Linked DNA regions of Homo sapiens: region 2 is linked to region 1. The links are contacts of gene promoters, found by promoter capture Hi-C in human tissues and cell types (Jung and others, 2019). All regions are on one chromosome and are shown on one strand. The core of a region is centred on a gene start or on the middle of the fragment in contact, and the rest is flanking DNA. Distances in the headings are between cores, read along the strand shown.

Region 1 (2,640 bases), core at 87-2,586:
AGAAGAAAAGACAAGCCCATAAGTGTTCCTAGCTGAACTCCCCCATTAGAAGTGGTCTGTGCCTCATCCTATGACATCTATGATTCCACAGCTTGCTGATTACAGCTGAAGACTGTTTAGATTAGGGGGTGAGGCGCGCCTTTCAGATTAGGAATATGGATATGGGATTTCAGGAGTACCACCACCACCTGACCTTGCAGCCTGTAAATTAGGGCGATGTTGAATTAGGTAACAGCATTTCGAGGGATTTCAGACATGAATGGAGAGGAGGGGCCAGGAGACAAATTTACATAGTTCAGAACTTCGTGCATTACCAGAGCAGTTCCCTCTTCCTGCTGGTCCAGGCAGCACGGTGCTTTGAATAAAGGTCAGCTAGAGGGGTCACCCGCCGATTATTCTCTTCTACTGGCAAGGAGGAGGAAGCCCCTGCCCCCTTATCCACCACAAAATCCTGGGCTTCCCCGACAGCTGCAAATTCCTCCCTGGAGATGTAAGGCTTCTGGGGTTGCCATGGTCCATGGGAGTGAAATGCTGGCCGCCCTCTGCTACCCCAGCCCCGAGCAGGCTGTTGCAGCCTTCCCTCCTGTCCCTTTCAAAAGCTTTTAAAGGAAATCCCAGGGGGGAAGGAGGATGGGACACTAACCAGGGCTTCCGTCCAAGCAGCCAGGGCGAATAAAAGGGGCTTTTCTCAAACGAACGGAGCAAACCCTGGGATCGTTTCAAAGGATTTTTAACCCGCGGTCGTTCCCGGAGGGAAGTGGGGAGCAGATACAGTTCTTCCCAAGCTTAACCTGCTCTACAGTTCCTTTCAGCATTTTCTCCAGGGACGCCTCATCCAGGGTCTTTCCCTGGAGGGAGGCGAGGGCAGAGATGATCCTTCCCAATCCCCAACTTAACCTGCTTCGGAAGCGCCTTGCAGCCTGTTTCAAAGGATTTCTCACCCTTGTCTGGCGGGAAGGGGAGGGCAAACAAATGAATCAGCCCCAAAGAGCGGGCTGAGGTCGAGGCTGAATGGGGCTCTTGGGTGTGACTTGCAAATTCTGGGAACACTTTGCAGAAATGACGAGAAGCCCCTCGGAGCAGGCCTGTGGGTTTTCCCTCGCACCTTGCTCCCCAAGCCGGGGCTCGGGAGGGTTCGAGGGCGGAGCGGCGGGCGCGCCGGGGCCAGGGTCCTCCCGGGGCCGCGGTGGGCGCAGACAAAGAGGCGGCGGGGCGGCGCGGGGCCGGGCGCGGGCCGCAGGGCCGGTGCGGACTCGAGGGGCCGGGCCGGCCGGGCCGGCCGGGCGGGCGCGGCGGCGGAGCGCTGGGAGGAGCCGCGCGGCGTCTTCTCCTGGCAGCGCGCGCCCGCCCGGCCCCGCGGCGGCGGCGGCGCGTCACGCTCTCCCCCGCCCCGAGCCGACGAGCCGGGAGGCGGGAGGCGGCGGCCGCGGCGGCTGCTGCTGCTGCAGTGGGACAGGTGGCGGCGACCGGCGGCGTCCGAGGAGGTGAGCAGGGGGCGGCGCGGGCCCTCTCCCTTTCCCGGCACCCCCTGCTCCCCTGCCGGCTTCCCGGCCTGCGGGGCCCGCCCAGGGTCGGGTCGGGGGTCGAAGCCCGGCGTCCGGGAGCGGGGCCGAGCCTCGCGCGCCGGAGCCGTCCGGGAGGGGACCGCGGGAGTCTCGGGTGGCCGGCGCCGGAGGCCGGGGGTCCCTGGGGGGCTCCTCCGGAGCTGGAAAAGTGGCGGCCCTGTCAGCGCCGAGCCGGGCCTTCGCTTCCTCCGCCCGCCTCAAGATGGAGCTTGGACTCCTTGCCCCTGCGCCGCCCCAGGCGCCGCTCTCTCCCTGGCGCCCCGCTCCCTCTCCTGGGCCCCGGGGCGGATGTGGGATCGGCCGGACCCCGGGAGGCCGAAGCCGGGCGGGACCTGTTGCCCCGGGCGCCGCGCCTGTCACCTGAGCATTCCTCAGGCCCCGGGTGCCCGGCGCCCGCGATCCGGCATGGAGGGCACCCTGGCCCGGCCTCCCCCGCTGCCCCGGCTTTTGTTTTCCTCTCAAGTGGGGCTGTGATTCTCGGAGACCGGGGAAGGCTGGAGGTGGCCAGATCGCTCTCGGGTTTCCGAAATCACACCGCTGCCCGGTAATCCGAACCTTCTACCGCGGCAGGGGATTGGCGCGGAAGGCAGATGACACTTGTTCAGAGGTTATTTTACAAGCAGAACCTAGCGATTGCCCGAATTGGAAGGTCCTGCCTTTCAAAAATCGGGTTTTGATTCGGGGGTGAATCCTGAATCCGGCTGTTTCTCCACTTCATGTGGCTTTTCCATCTGGCAGGAGCCGAGCGCCACCCCCTCCTCCCTGCACAGCCCCACCTCTTTGGTATGAAGAAATTACACGTTGTCCGTCATCGGTTTAGATACCTGTTTTTAGCAAAACTTGGGCGCCAGTGAACTGTTTTTTAAAACAAAGGGTGGAGAAGATTCTGTAATTGTGTGTGTGTGATTCAGCAGCCTGGCCTTCTTCCTCTTTTAGGACAGTGGCCCCTAGCAGCTCTATAAGTATTAAGTGCTGTGGCCACTGCTGTCATTAGGGTTATGATTCTGGCTGTTCTTATTATTTGATTTGTGTCACTACTGTTAGCGATGGTATCCACGAATCAGGAGAGTATCCC
Region 2 (2,640 bases), core at 94-2,593, 310 kb before region 1:
TCACCCAGGCTGGAGTTCATTGGCACGATCTCGGCTCACTGCAACCTCCACCTCCCGGGTTCAAGTGATTCTCCTGCCTCAGCCTCCTGAGTAACTGGGATTACAGACACATGCCACAACACCTGACTGATTTTTGTATATTTTTAGTAGAGATGGGGTTTCACCATGTTGGCAAGGCTGGTCTTGTACTCCTGACCTCAAGTCATCCACCTGCCTCGGCCTCCCAAAGTGCTGGGATTATAGATGTGAGCCACCGCGACTGGCCTCCACCCCATTTTCTTCTTTCTTTCTTTTTTCTTTTTCTTTTTCTTGTTGTTTTGTTTGTTTGTTTGTTTGTTTGTTTTAGACGGAGTCTGGTTCTGTCACCCAGACTGGAGTGCAGTGGCGCAATCTTGGCTCCCTGCAAGCTCTGCCTCCCGGGTTCACGCCATTCTCCTGCCTCAGCCTCCCGAGTAGCTGGGACTACAGGCGCCCGCCACCACGCCTGGCTCATTTTTTTGTATTTTTAGTAGAGACGGGGTTTTACCGTGTTAGCCAGGATGGTCTCCATCTCCTGACCTGGTGATCCGCCCGCCTGGGCCTACCAAAGTGCTTGGATTACAAGCGTGAGCCACCGCGCCCGGCCTCCACCCCATTTTCTAAACTGGAAGCTGAAAGGCACAGGGCAGATTAATAATCCTTAAAGCCAAAGGACAGGAAATTTTAGCAAAGACTCCAATTTTTTGTGCAGTCTAATGTTACTCATGATTGCTTTAGAGATGGACTCCTTAATCAACTCCTCCAATCCTCTTCCGCCCCCAGGGGGCAGTTTTAATTGATGGGCTCAGCACATAATTGAAATTAAAAACGTACATCTCATGGTGTTTGGCTCATTCAACAGCCAATGGAAACTCAGGGCCAAATCTTTGTAAAAGTTCTAGGCTCTGCTTCCCAGCAGAGGGGGAAACCGGCTCCCAAAGAGGCCGTTTTGTGGAGACAGACATATGAGAAGTGGGCTTCAGATCTATTTCATGGTCTTGGTGGTTGTGCAACTGGCCACTTTGGTTCACGGAAGGATGTAAAGGGCAGGGAGGTGGGAATAGAGCGGGGGAAAGGTGACTCCCGTCAAAGAATTTTTCTAACATCCATCAAGTATCGTGATTAGAACTTTTCTCTCCGCAGACTCCTCCAATTTTTGAGCGCGGTATTTTTCGGCACAGGAAATGGCCCGGAGGAGCTGCAGAGCAAAGCCTCCCCTCTCTGGCACCGCATGGGAGTGCCCCGTGGGATGAGGGAGAGGACAAGGCAGTCAGGCAAAGGTTACGGGAGGAAAGCAAAGGCAGGAGCCCAGAACCACTCCAGGAAATGTTTGGATTTCTCCACCAGGAGGGAGGACAAACAAGCTTTCTTCTTGCCTTCTGGGCAGCTTTGTGTGCTCTCCAGCACGGAGTCCGAGGAGGAACAGCGAAGCTGAAAATGAAAATTACTCTGGCGCTGGACCCAATCGCTCCTCTACGGCATCAATCTCATCGGACCCCCCCACCCTACCGCCTCTCAGAAATGACCACTTTTGCAAAATTGCATGCATTTCCAAGCTTCATCCGGCTCCAGGCTTGGCCTCTCCCAGAGGCAGGCGGCTTGTGAGACGGGCTCCAGAGAAAGGACCTCCCTGGGTCTCTCATTTCCTGGCTGAAGTTTCTCTTCTCGCTGCTGTGGCAGCATCCAACCCACACACACAGGACCCGCATCCTGGGTGATGAAGTCAGACACGCAGCAGCTGGGTGAGTGCTAACGCTCAGATAAGCATCTGTGCCATTGTGGGGACTCCCTGGGCTGCTCTGCACCCGGACACTTGCTCTGTCCCCGCCATGTACAACGGGTCGTGCTGCCGCATCGAGGGGGACACCATCTCCCAGGTGATGCCGCCGCTGCTCATTGTGGCCTTTGTGCTGGGCGCACTAGGCAATGGGGTCGCCCTGTGTGGTTTCTGCTTCCACATGAAGACCTGGAAGCCCAGCACTGTTTACCTTTTCAATTTGGCCGTGGCTGATTTCCTCCTTATGATCTGCCTGCCTTTTCGGACAGACTATTACCTCAGACGTAGACACTGGGCTTTTGGGGACATTCCCTGCCGAGTGGGGCTCTTCACGTTGGCCATGAACAGGGCCGGGAGCATCGTGTTCCTTACGGTGGTGGCTGCGGACAGGTATTTCAAAGTGGTCCACCCCCACCACGCGGTGAACACTATCTCCACCCGGGTGGCGGCTGGCATCGTCTGCACCCTGTGGGCCCTGGTCATCCTGGGAACAGTGTATCTTTTGCTGGAGAACCATCTCTGCGTGCAAGAGACGGCCGTCTCCTGTGAGAGCTTCATCATGGAGTCGGCCAATGGCTGGCATGACATCATGTTCCAGCTGGAGTTCTTTATGCCCCTCGGCATCATCTTATTTTGCTCCTTCAAGATTGTTTGGAGCCTGAGGCGGAGGCAGCAGCTGGCCAGACAGGCTCGGATGAAGAAGGCGACCCGGTTCATCATGGTGGTGGCAATTGTGTTCATCACATGCTACCTGCCCAGCGTGTCTGCTAGACTCTATTTCCTCTGGACGGTGCCCTCGAGTGCCTGCGATCCCTCTGTCCATGGGGCCCTGCACATAACCCTCA

Evidence for each region. Contacts are between HindIII fragments. The study calls those that stand out against the background at their distance.
Region 2: a contact is called between the fragment with the promoter of HCAR1 here and the fragment with the promoter of CLIP1 in region 1, in 1 of the 25 tissues and cell types used here (lymphoblastoid cells).

The regions. Positions count from the first base shown.
Region 1 is chr12:122,421,365-122,424,004 of GRCh38, reverse strand. CLIP1 (CAP-Gly domain containing linker protein 1) reads left to right here and starts at 1,336. Exons shown (of 26, transcript NM_001247997.2): 1 at 1,336-1,484. RefSeq lists an enhancer at 61-160 and silencers at 1,270-1,619, 1,640-2,039. The HindIII fragment of the contact is 23,258 bases long and covers 1-2,640 here.
Region 2 is chr12:122,729,547-122,732,186 of GRCh38, reverse strand. HCAR1 (hydroxycarboxylic acid receptor 1) reads left to right here and starts at 1,343. Exons shown (of 1, transcript NM_032554.4): 1 at 1,343-2,640. The coding sequence starts at 1,848. RefSeq lists an enhancer at 1,914-2,581. The HindIII fragment of the contact is 12,382 bases long and covers 1-2,640 here.